4 separate regions of the Homo sapiens genome follow, and regions 1, 3 and 4 are each linked to region 2. The links are contacts of gene promoters, found by promoter capture Hi-C in human tissues and cell types (Jung and others, 2019). All regions are on one chromosome and are shown on one strand. The core of a region is centred on a gene start or on the middle of the fragment in contact, and the rest is flanking DNA. Distances in the headings are between cores, read along the strand shown.

Region 1 (2,700 bases), core at 184-2,683, 130 kb before region 2:
TTAATACATCTTGAGTTGATTTTTGTATGTGATGTAAGGTAGGGGTCCAGTTTCAATCTTCTGCATATGGCTAGCCAGTTATCCCAGCACCATTTATTGAATGGGGCCATTGCTTGTTTTTGTCAGCTGTGTCAAAGATCAGATGATAGTAGGTGTGTGGCCTTATTCCTGGGCTCTCTATTCTGTTCCATTGGTCTGTTTGTTTCTGTACCAGTACCATGCTGTTTTGGTTACGGTAGCCCTGTAGCATAGTTTGAAGTTGAGTAACATGATGCCTCCAGCTTTGTTCTTTTTGCTTAGAATTGCCATTTCTATTTGAGCTCTTTTGCAGTTTCATGTGAATTTTAAAATAGCTTTTTTCTAGTTCTATAAAGAATGTCATTGGCAGTTTGTTAGAAATAGAATTAAATCTGTAAACGGCTTTGGGAAGTATGACCTTTTTAACAACACTGATTCCTCCTGTCCATAAGCATGAAATGTTTTCCATTTACTTGTGCCATCTCTGATTTTTTTGAGCAGTGTTTTGTAATTCTCATTATAGAGCTCTTTCACCTCCCTGGTTAGCTGTATTCTGAGATATTTTACTCTTTTCATAGGCAATTGTAAATGGGATTGTGCTCCTGATTTGGCTCTCAGCTGGGATGTTGCTAGTGTATAAGAACGCAATTGATTTTTGTTTGTCAATTTTGTATCCTGAACTTTTGCTGAAGTAGTTTATCAGATCAAGGAGCTTTTGGACAGAGACTATGGGGTTATGGGGTTTTCTTAGAGTGCAGTGGCCTGATCTCGGCTCACTGCAACCTCTGCCTCCTGGGTTCAAGCGATTCTCCTGCCTCAGCCTCCCAAGTAGCTGGGATTACAGGCATGCGCCCCACGCCTGGCTAATTTTGTATTTTTAGTAGAGACAGGGTTTCTCCATGTTGGTCAGGCTGGTCTCGAACTCCCGACCTCAGGTGATCTGCCCACCTCAGCCTCCCAAAGTGCTGGGATTACAGGCATGAGCTACCACACCCAGCCAGGGTTTTCTAGATATAGAATCATGTCATCTACAAACAGGGATAGTTCTACTTCCTCTCTTCCTATTTGGATGCCGTTTGTTTCCTTCTCTTGCCTAATTGCTCTGGCCAGGACTTCCAATACTATGTTGAATAGGAGTGGTGAGACAGGGCATCCTTGTCTTGTGCTGGTTTTCAAGGGGAATGCTTCCAGCTTTTGCCCATTCGGTACGATGTTGGCTGTGGGTTTGTCAGAGATGGCTCTTATTACTTTGAAGTATGTTTCTTCAGTGCCTAGTTTATTGAGGGGTTTTGTTTGTTTGTTTGTTTTAACATGAATGGATGTTGAATTTTATCGAAGTCCTTTTCTGCATGGCCCAAACCTTCTTATTACTGCTGACCCCTATACTCCAGAGCTCTGACAACATTCCACCTACTTTTCAAGGCCCAGCTGAGATTTGCCCCACCCAGGAAACTTAGCCTTCTATTTCTTTCCTCATCAGAATTTATCCTCCTCTCCCCCTAAAAGATGACATTTGTAATAATTTCACCACTGATGACTTGCATTCAGATAAGCTTCCTAACACAGATGAGAGGCACAAAGCCAGAGCTGGTAAGCTGGTTGGCACACATACATCACCACACCTTATGTCTCAGCTGAAATGAAGCAAGCACTCCTTATATAGATTCACAGGGGTATGGGGGACATGTGCATCAGGAAAAAAAATTTAAGTTGGAAACTACATATTTATGTGAGTTTCACACACATAAATAATGCTAGAAAAATTATGAAGGGTTATAGTCAAAATAACCCTGAATCCACTTAGATTTACTTTTCAATTTTTTTTTATTTTGTTTTGTTTTTATTTTTTTGAGACAGGGTCTCTCTTTGTTGCCCAGGCTGGAGCGCAGTAGTGCCATCTCATTTCATGCAGCCTCGATCTCCTGGGCTCAAGTGATCCTCCCAACTCAGCCTCCCAAGTAGCTCAGACTACAGATGCACACCACCATGCCTAGCTAATTTTTGAATTTTGTGTAGAGACGGGATTTCACCATGTTGCCCAGGCTGTTCTCCAACTCCTGAGCTCAAGTGATCCTCCCACCTCAGCCTCCCTAAGTGCTGGGATTACAGGCATGAGCCACCGCACCTAGCTAGATTTATTTTTATTAGTGCATTTTATTCAGCACTTTAACTATTATTTGTAACAAACTGCTGATGACATGTCTCACAACTGATAGAGCCCACCAGAATGTGTTAACAGCAAGGCTGAAAGCTGCTGAACTGATAATGCCTCCTCTTGCTTCAAAGGCTTTGGAAGGCACAGACTGTATCTTCTTTGCTTAAAGGTCTTAGCCCTGTGCTTCAGTCATAGGAGGAACTTATGAATTGTGAATGGTATTGACCCGAACTGACTTTACCAGACCTGAATGAGGGTTTAATCAGAAAAGCTCCCATAGTAGAAGAGAGAGCATTCTGAGGAATCCAGCAGTTGATAAACAAGCCTTTACTGCACTCCCTCGGGAAATGAAGCTCTGTAAGTAGGCACTCTAGATAATGGATGGTGGGGAACAAGCCTGTCCCCACCCTGTAAAGAGGGCGTATGGGAGACAAGACCAACAAATATGTAATCAGCATAAACACAACGAGAAAAATACAGTCATTCCAAGAGTATGTTGAGGGGGAAGAATGAATGGGTAAGGTGGG
Region 2 (2,700 bases), core at 141-2,640:
ACTTATTTAGGATGAGTTAGGAGCTCTTCTAAGTAATTTATACATAGTCAAGTGCCACATAACATTTTAGTCAATGCAACAGTGGTCCCATAAGATTACAATACTGTATTTTTACTGTATGTTTCCTATGTTTAGACACACAAGTACTCACCACTGTGTTACAACTCCCTACAGCATTCAGTAGTCGCATGCTGTACAGGTTTGTACCTAGGATCAACAGGCTATGCCATGTAGCCTCCGTGTGTAGTAGGCTGAACCATCTAGGTTTGTGTAAGTACACCCTGATGTTCACACACACAGGAAAATTGCCTAAGGATGCATTTCTCAGACGTGACACATAATTGTACTTCAATTCATTTAAGTCTCATAATAACCTTAGGAGGTAGGTTCCATCATTATCTTCATTTACATTTGAGGAGACTGCAAAGTCCCGAAGAAATCTTACACTGAACCACGGGGAAAAGAACTCTGGTCTGAACCCACAAGTCAAAGTATGTCTGAGGGTTCTCAATTCCAGCAAGGGAAGGGAGGGGGTTAAAGAGTAGAACTAACTTACATGGGAAGCTTTGCTGCCTGGGCAAGCAGCTTCTGGTGGATTTCCTGAAATTCAGCAGGGTGGGGCCGCCTCTCCAATCAGACTTCACTTTACTATACTATGGGGTCATTAAATAGAGGAGCCAGGAGTTCAGGACTCCCTCCCTCTTCTTCAAAAGGAAAACTGGGTGTGGGGAGGGTACATTACCTCACAGAATATTGGAGAAAGCCTAAATGTGTCCTCCAGTGATTCATTTGGGTGGACTACTTTCACACCAAGCTAAACTCAAAAGTTCGGAGTGGGGTCATCAGGGCCCCTCCCTCCCTGAGTGCAAGAAACATTTCCTCTTTTTAAAGTACAGGCAGAGTTGGAATCAAACTCCTTCCAAACAGGAAATCAGCAAGATTCTAGGTAAAACTGATACCTTACTTTTAAAGGTCAAGCTCTTTCCTTCACCAAGAGCGTGTTTCCTGAGCACCTACTATGTGCCAGGCATGTGGTAGGTAGTTGTTATGAATCTTGATGTGCCCTGCGCTCTGCAGGGGGGCGGAGGTGGAAGGGAACACAAAGAAAGAACAGATACCAACACTGCCACCCCCGCCTCCCCCCACCCCCCCCCACACACTCATTTGGCAAAGCTTACAGGAAAAAAAGGGTTTTAGGGGGCTTGTGGTGGTTTTTTTTTCCCTAAAAATAATAGAAATGGTAAAAAGAGGCTTCGGACCCCTCGCGTGAGTCCCTTAAAGTGACTGGATTGAGACCTGGGCAGGGAAAGTGGGAGGCCCGAGCGAGGGGGAGGGCGCAGGCAGTGGGTGGGTGACAAGGTGCAAGGGCAGCGCCGGCTTCGGATCGGGAGTTGGCCGTCAGCTGCGCCAGAGGCAGGTGCCAGCGGAGAGTGGGTGGGGGTGCCGGCGCCAGGCCAGGCTCGGGGAGGCCCCGCGCTACCTCTGCCTCTAGGAGTCCAGGCGCACAGACAAGCTCCCCGGAGCCGCTCCTGCTTCGCCAACTCCCCACTCGCGCCGCCCGTGCCAGCCGCCGGCACTGGCGTCTCCGCCGCCCGCAGGAGGAGTCGCGGGAGCACTAGCAGCCGCCGCCGAGCGACAGCATCCTCAGGAGAGACGCCCCGGGCTTTGCAGCCGGCGGCCTCCGTCCGCCCTCCGCGGTCGCCCCCCGCCCCGTCGCCCGTCCGCCCGCGGTGGCAGCCGGCGCCGGCGCCCCGGGGCCCTTCACCTGCCGCGAGCGTCCGGGCGGGCGGGCGCACGGGAGAAAAGGCGCAAGAAGCGGGCACCCCGGGAACCCCATTCCCTCGGCTCACTCGGCGCGGAGAAGCGACGCCCGCTGACTCCGAGAGCCCCGGTGCTCCGTGCACCTGGTCCCCAAGTTGAGGAGCGACACCCCTCCACAGGGGACTAGCCCGCGCGGGGAGCATTCCGGTCTCACTGACCCCGGCCCACCCGCGGGACTCCAGGCACCTCTTCTGCCCGCACCCCGCGACCCCTCCCGGGACCCCGGAGACAGCCGGCCTGCCCCCGGCGTCCCCCTTGGCCAGCACGCCATGCCGGGGCTGCGCCGGGACCGCCTACTGACTCTGCTGCTGCTGGGCGCGCTGCTCTCCGCCGACCTCTACTTCCACCTCTGGCCCCAAGTACAGCGCCAGCTGCGGCCTCGGGAGCGCCCGCGGGGGTGCCCGTGCACCGGCCGCGCCTCCTCCCTGGCGCGGGACTCGGCCGCAGCTGCCTCGGACCCCGGCACGATCGTGCACAACTTTTCCCGAACCGAGCCCCGGACTGAACCGGCTGGCGGCAGCCACAGCGGGTCGAGCTCCAAGTTGCAGGCCCTCTTCGCCCACCCGCTGTACAACGTCCCGGAGGAGCCGCCTCTCCTGGGAGCCGAGGACTCGCTCCTGGCCAGCCAGGAGGCGCTGCGGTATTACCGGAGGAAGGTGGCCCGCTGGAACAGGTGAGGACCCCGCCCGGGACGCGGGAGAGCGGGCGCTCTGGCCGGGGCCTCCCCGCGCCCCAGTCTCGAGTTTCCTGACGCCCCCGGCCCAGGGCTGCAGCGGCTCCACCCACGGCTCCAGCCCTGGCGCTGGGCTTAGAGTGTGTTCCCCACCCGAACCCCACCAGCTGTTGCAGACCTCACAGTCCAGTCCCGGAGTCAGATAG
Region 3 (2,700 bases), core at 149-2,648, 100 kb after region 2:
CCTGGAACCGTTGTGAGGTTTCACATAGATTCCCACACCCTACCCTCACAGCACCTTTTGAGGTACGTACTATTGTTGTTCCTATTTTACAGATAAGGAAACTCCGGCATACAGAAGTTACACAACTTGCCCAAGTCATGTAGTGAGGAAGAGGCAGAGCTGGGGTGTGAACGAGGACCCTAAGCAAAGCTACTGAACTTGGACTTCCACCTGAGAGCTACAGAAGACCTTTAAAGAGGAGAGGGATCTGATTGGCCTGTACTTTAGAGAGATTGTAGGATGCCAGTGTGTCCCCTGATGCCAATAACAAGACTGAAACTGAGGATGTTTGGGAGTTAACACTCGAAGAAGATGTCAACAGACATCAGAGCCAGCACAGGAAGCAAGCGGGCAGTGGCGTGGGATGGAACTAGGGCCAATTGCCAGGTTTCCAAGAACTGAGTGGGGAGCTGCCAGGATTGCAGCCAAGGCTGCAGGAGATAAGGGCATGGGGATGGCACCTAACTGGCTCAGGCTATTTCTCAAAGGCAGGAGCACCCACCAGCTTCCTTGACCCTGACTGTACCCAGTGCCTGACACCAACTTATCTTTTCCAATTTATCTCCCTGGGTTCACATCCTCCCACAACCAGAACCTATTCTGTCATTTATACCCACACGTATTCACAAAACGACCCAGGGGCATTGCAAGAAATAAATACGTAATGAAATGATGTTAAAATATGGATAAAAACAAATATTAAGACCAGAGAAAACACTCATCAGAGCAGAAATTGAGCTTTTGGGGAGGAAAGGAGAAGAAACTCAAATATTCAAGCTGTGTGGTTCCTTGCTCTTGCTCAAGTTAAGCTCAAGTTTGAAGCTAAACTTCCAGTCAAAGTGAAAACGAAGGCAAGGTCATTTACATGGTCGTTACGGAGAGAAAAGAGGAAGTGCACCAGCTGCCAAGAAAACTTGTGGCCCTTTGCTAGCAAAGGTGTGGCATGAATTTTCAAAGTGGACTGCTTTCCAATCCCTTAACCCCCCCTTTACTTCCCCCATCACACCTGTGTTTAGGTGGTTGCATCCATCTAGCTTACAAGCATGTAAGTGTCAATCAAAATCCTGCCCAAATTTTAGAGCCCATCTTAAGTAGTTTGGCACCCATGAAGAAGGTGTCTTTTCCCTCCCTGGTCAGAAGTTTTTCCCCTTAATTATTTCTCTGCCTTGTTGTTGCTTCTTTCATAGCACTCATTATATTCTCTCACATGTTACAATTCAATGTCTATGTGTCTTGTCTTTCGTGAGGCAGCATAGCCTAATGGTTAGAGCAACAGCTCAGGAGTCAACCTCCCTGGGTTCTAGCTTGCCCCTCTCTGGCTGTGTAACCTTGGGCAACATACTTGATCCATCTAAGCTTCAGTTTTTTTTCATCTGTAAAATGAGAATCATAAGAGCATCATCCTTGTTCTCTTAGCACGGCACTTGGCACATGGTAAATTATCACATTTTTATCAGCATCTTCATAATTATCATCTCATCTCCTAGGGCTGTCAGTACAGTAGCCACTAGCCACAGGGAGCTCTTCAAATCTAAATTAATTATAATCAAATAAAGCTTAAAAGTCTTTTCCTTAGGGGTACTAGCCTCATTTCAAGTGCCAGCTGTAGCTAGTGACTACCATATTGGACAGCCCAGATACAGCATATTCCCACAATCACAGAAAGTTCTAAAGTTCCCTCTAGAACGGGGACTAGCAATTTTTTTTCTGTCAACGGTCAAATAGGTAATTATTTTAGACTTTGTGGCCATAAGGTCTTTGTTGCAACCACTCACCTTCACCACTATAGTGTGAAAGCAGCATAGACAACAAATAAATGAATGGGCATGGCTGTGTTCCAATAAAAGTTGACTTATGGACACTTTAAAGTAAATTTCATCTAATTTTTATGTCACAAAATATCATTCTCCATTCGAGCTTGTTTAGCCACTGAAAAATATACAGCCAGGCACAGTGGCTCACGCCTGTAATCCCAGAAATTTGGGAGGCCTGGGCAGGCAGATCACTTGAGCTCAGGAGTTCGAGACCAGCCTGAGCAGCATGGCAAAACCCTGTCTCCACAAAAAATACAAAAATGGGCCAGACATGGTGGTGTGTGCCTATAGTCCCAGCTATTTGTGGGGCTGAGGCAGGAGGATCACTTGGGCCCAGGAGGTCAAGTGCAGTAAGCTGTGTTTGCACCACTGCACTCTAGCCTGGGTGACAAAGTGAGACCCTGTCTCAAAAAAAAAAAAAAAAAAAAAAAAAGTAAAAACTAAGCTTAAGAGCTGTACAAAAACAGGTGATAGATCCAAATTTGTTGACCCCTTCTTTTAGAATATAAACTCCATTTGAACAAATATCATGTCTTCCTCATATACTACATAGCAGACTTCTGTTCTACATTCGAGGAGAGTGATACATAGTTCACAGCCTTTTTACCATAGGAGCTCACAGACTGCAGTCAGCCAAATGATGACCCCTGCAAGAACGTCCACGTCCTACTGCCCAAAAACATGTTGAAGTGTTACAGTACATGGCAAATGGGAATTAATATTGTAGATGAATTTAAGGTTACTAATCAGATGATCTTAAAATACAGAGATTGTCCTGGATTATCTGGACGTGGCCGGTGTAATCACAAGGGTCCTTCCATGTGGAAGAGGAAGATAGAAAGCTAGT
Region 4 (2,700 bases), core at 51-2,550, 98 kb before region 2:
TTATTTTCAGCAAAGGGATTGAAATTCAACACGTCGCACACCTTTTCAAGCCACTATCGCAGGTCTGGATGTTGAATGTAATTCTGCTACTTTTTGCAGATAACAGCTTGTCTCTGGGTAGAGAAAGGCTGGGATCGTATTGAGAAAAGATTAAATTTCCCACATATCCAGAAAAGCTGATGGTGCTCAGCATGTATTCTGCTTGCTCATCTGATGTTCACTCTGTCACCTACAAGTATTAAGCACCTACTCTATGTCATGCTTCATGCTGGATGCCAAGGCTTCAAAGATCAGTAGAACCTGAATTTTACCTTAAAGAGACTAGAGTCTAATGTCAACATGCAAACTTGCCTTTTCTGTACCAGAGGAGAAATGCTTCTGGCATCAAGGGCATGGAACTAATTTTGAGGTTATAAACAATCTTTAGAATTTGTCTCAATTTGGCTAGGCGCAGTGGCTCATGCCTGTAATCCCAGTACTTTGGGAGGCTGAGGTGGGCGGATCACGAGGTCAGAAGATCGAGACCATCCTGGCTAACATGGTGAAACCCCATCTCTACTAAAAATACAAAAAATTAGCCGGGTGTGGTGGCAGGCACCTGTAGTCCCAGCTACTCAGGAAGCTGAGGCAGGAGAATGGTGTGAACCTGGGAGGCAGAGCTTGCAGTGAGCCAAGATGGTGCCACTGCACTCCAGCCCAGGGGACAGAGCGAGACTCCGCCTCAAAAAAAAAAAAAAAAAAAAAAATTTGTCTCAATTTTCTTTGAATATGTCTTCTCTCTTTCCAGGGTCTCATAACTTCCAGAGAGCAACCCCTTTCCAACTTCCCCTCCTTCTCCGCCCACTCCCCCCAGCAAAAAAAACAAAATTGTAATTAATGATGGGAACTTAAAAATTGCCCAGACTTCCTAGTTATCTCACAAGGAAACAGGGCAACACAGAGCCCCAGCCTCCACTTCTCCCACCCCTCCGAACCCCCAGTTCCTTCTCCCCTACAAAGGAACAGTCTCTACAATCCAGAACAAGTCCTGAGCTAGGTGGGGGCTCATGGCTTCTACGTGCTCAACATTCCCTGCTGCCAGTAGGGCCAATTGCAAATGCAGCAGAAAGCAGATGCTTATTGATTTGGGCTTTGGCAAAAACCAAGGAAGCTGGATTCCTCTTTTGAGATAATGCTGAGCCAGTAGCAGCTGTTAGAAACAGGAAGCCGTGTGGACTCTGGTGTCATAAAAGTAAGACTGGATTTGACGTGCCAATTGCCTGGGATCCAAAGGGGAACTTCTCTCCACTCCTCAGAATGTCATATGTTTCTACAAAGACCTGAGAGGCAACCCAAGAGGCAGTTCAGCTGGAAGGAAACCAGAATTCCTGTTCAGACAAAATGCTCTCCTAAACCCTCACCCCCTTCATTTGTATAGTAAACCTTTATGGAGAGCCTACTAGATACAAGATACTGCACTAAACTATGCCAGTCCATCACCTCCCCACCCCCACCAACGAACATTTTTTTAAATATCAGAATCCCACCATGGTCTCAGAATTCAGCGCCTTGGCAGACTCCAGAAAGAATCATCCTGAGTTATTTTTTAAATGCCTACTCTGGTGTCTTGAGAAAACTGCTACATTAAGCTTACTTTATTCTCTATTTTTAAATTCTGTTATAGTGGTGCTTCACTCTGGGCTGCTGGAAACATTCAGGAACCACATCAGCAAACACCACCCCCGTTCTCCATAACATCAGCTCCTTCCATCTAGGGAAAAGGAAATGATCCACACCTAAGGTCATAGCTGGCCCAGTAGAGGAAAATGTCAAATAAAACCCAGAAATGGAGAGTCGCCATTATTTACCCCTTTGGTGCATATGTGTAGGGGAATAAACAACTCTCTCCATTACATTACATCATTACATTACATTACATTACACTACTCATCCACAACATTAGGAAGTCAGATTGCATCACACCCCTGAAAGCTGGCCAGTGTGAAAATGAGTGCTTAAGGGACATGAGGATGAAATTGTTTACTCTAGGAGTTAAGGTATGTTTTCCTCTAACAGACAGGGGCTGTGTATCCCTAAGTTGGTTTAAATGTGGTCATAAAGTCTAGAATATGACCTGGAAGACTTCAAGGTCCCTGGAAGCCACAGATTTCATAATGGAGTTAGGCAGGCAAGTCCAGGCTTGTTTCTTTTCAGACTTATCATGGACCAGTTATCTAGCCTGAAAATGGATTTTGAAATTGCTGGGGAAACTTCAAAATTACTCATTTCTATCTTGGAAACTAGCTCCAATCTCCTTACAACAGGAGGTGCACTGAGGCATCCCCTAAGACAGGAGTCAGCAAACTACAGCCCACAGGCCAAATTTGTTCTACCACTTTGTATGGTTTGTGAGTGAAGAATGGTTTTCCATTTTTAGATGGTTGACAAATAAATCAAATGAACAGTTTTTTTTTGACACATGGAAATTATATGGAAGTCAAATGTTAGTGTTCATATGTAAAGTTTTATTGAAACACAGCCATGCCTACTCATTCACATATTGTTACTTTTGTGTTCCAACAGCTGTGTTGTATAATTGCAACAGAGACCACATGGCCCACAATGCCTACAATATTTGATACCTGGTCCTTTAAGAGGAAGTTGATTGACCCTTGCACTAAAGTAAAAAATAATAATAATAATAAGCCTGTACACATACAG

The links. Contacts are between HindIII fragments. The study calls those that stand out against the background at their distance.
Region 1: a fragment that was not itself captured here is called in contact with the fragment with the promoter of FAM20A in region 2 in 2 of the 25 tissues and cell types used here (mesendoderm cells and thymus).
Region 3: a contact is called between a fragment that was not itself captured here and the fragment with the promoter of FAM20A in region 2, in 2 of the 25 tissues and cell types used here (mesendoderm cells and thymus).
Region 4: a fragment that was not itself captured here is called in contact with the fragment with the promoter of FAM20A in region 2 in 3 of the 25 tissues and cell types used here (H1 embryonic stem cells, mesendoderm cells and thymus).

Annotation. Positions count from the first base shown.
Region 1 is chr17:68,725,403-68,728,102 of GRCh38, reverse strand. No RefSeq gene overlaps it. Among named protein-coding and RNA genes, the nearest start is that of LINC01482, 99 kb to the right of the region's middle. The HindIII fragment of the contact is 3,719 bases long and covers 1-2,700 here.
Region 2 is chr17:68,600,057-68,602,756 of GRCh38, reverse strand. It overlaps FAM20A (FAM20A golgi associated secretory pathway pseudokinase), which reads left to right and starts at 1,390. Exons shown (of 11, transcript NM_017565.4): 1 at 1,390-2,494. The coding sequence starts at 2,091. The HindIII fragment of the contact is 4,098 bases long and covers 870-2,700 here.
Region 3 is chr17:68,496,405-68,499,104 of GRCh38, reverse strand. It overlaps a transcript of PRKAR1A not described here. Among named protein-coding and RNA genes, the nearest start is that of PRKAR1A, 15 kb to the left of the region's middle. RefSeq lists a silencer at 375-558. The HindIII fragment of the contact is 5,296 bases long and covers 1-2,700 here.
Region 4 is chr17:68,697,469-68,700,168 of GRCh38, reverse strand. No RefSeq gene overlaps it. Among named protein-coding and RNA genes, the nearest start is that of LINC01482, 71 kb to the right of the region's middle. The HindIII fragment of the contact is 3,203 bases long and covers 1-2,700 here.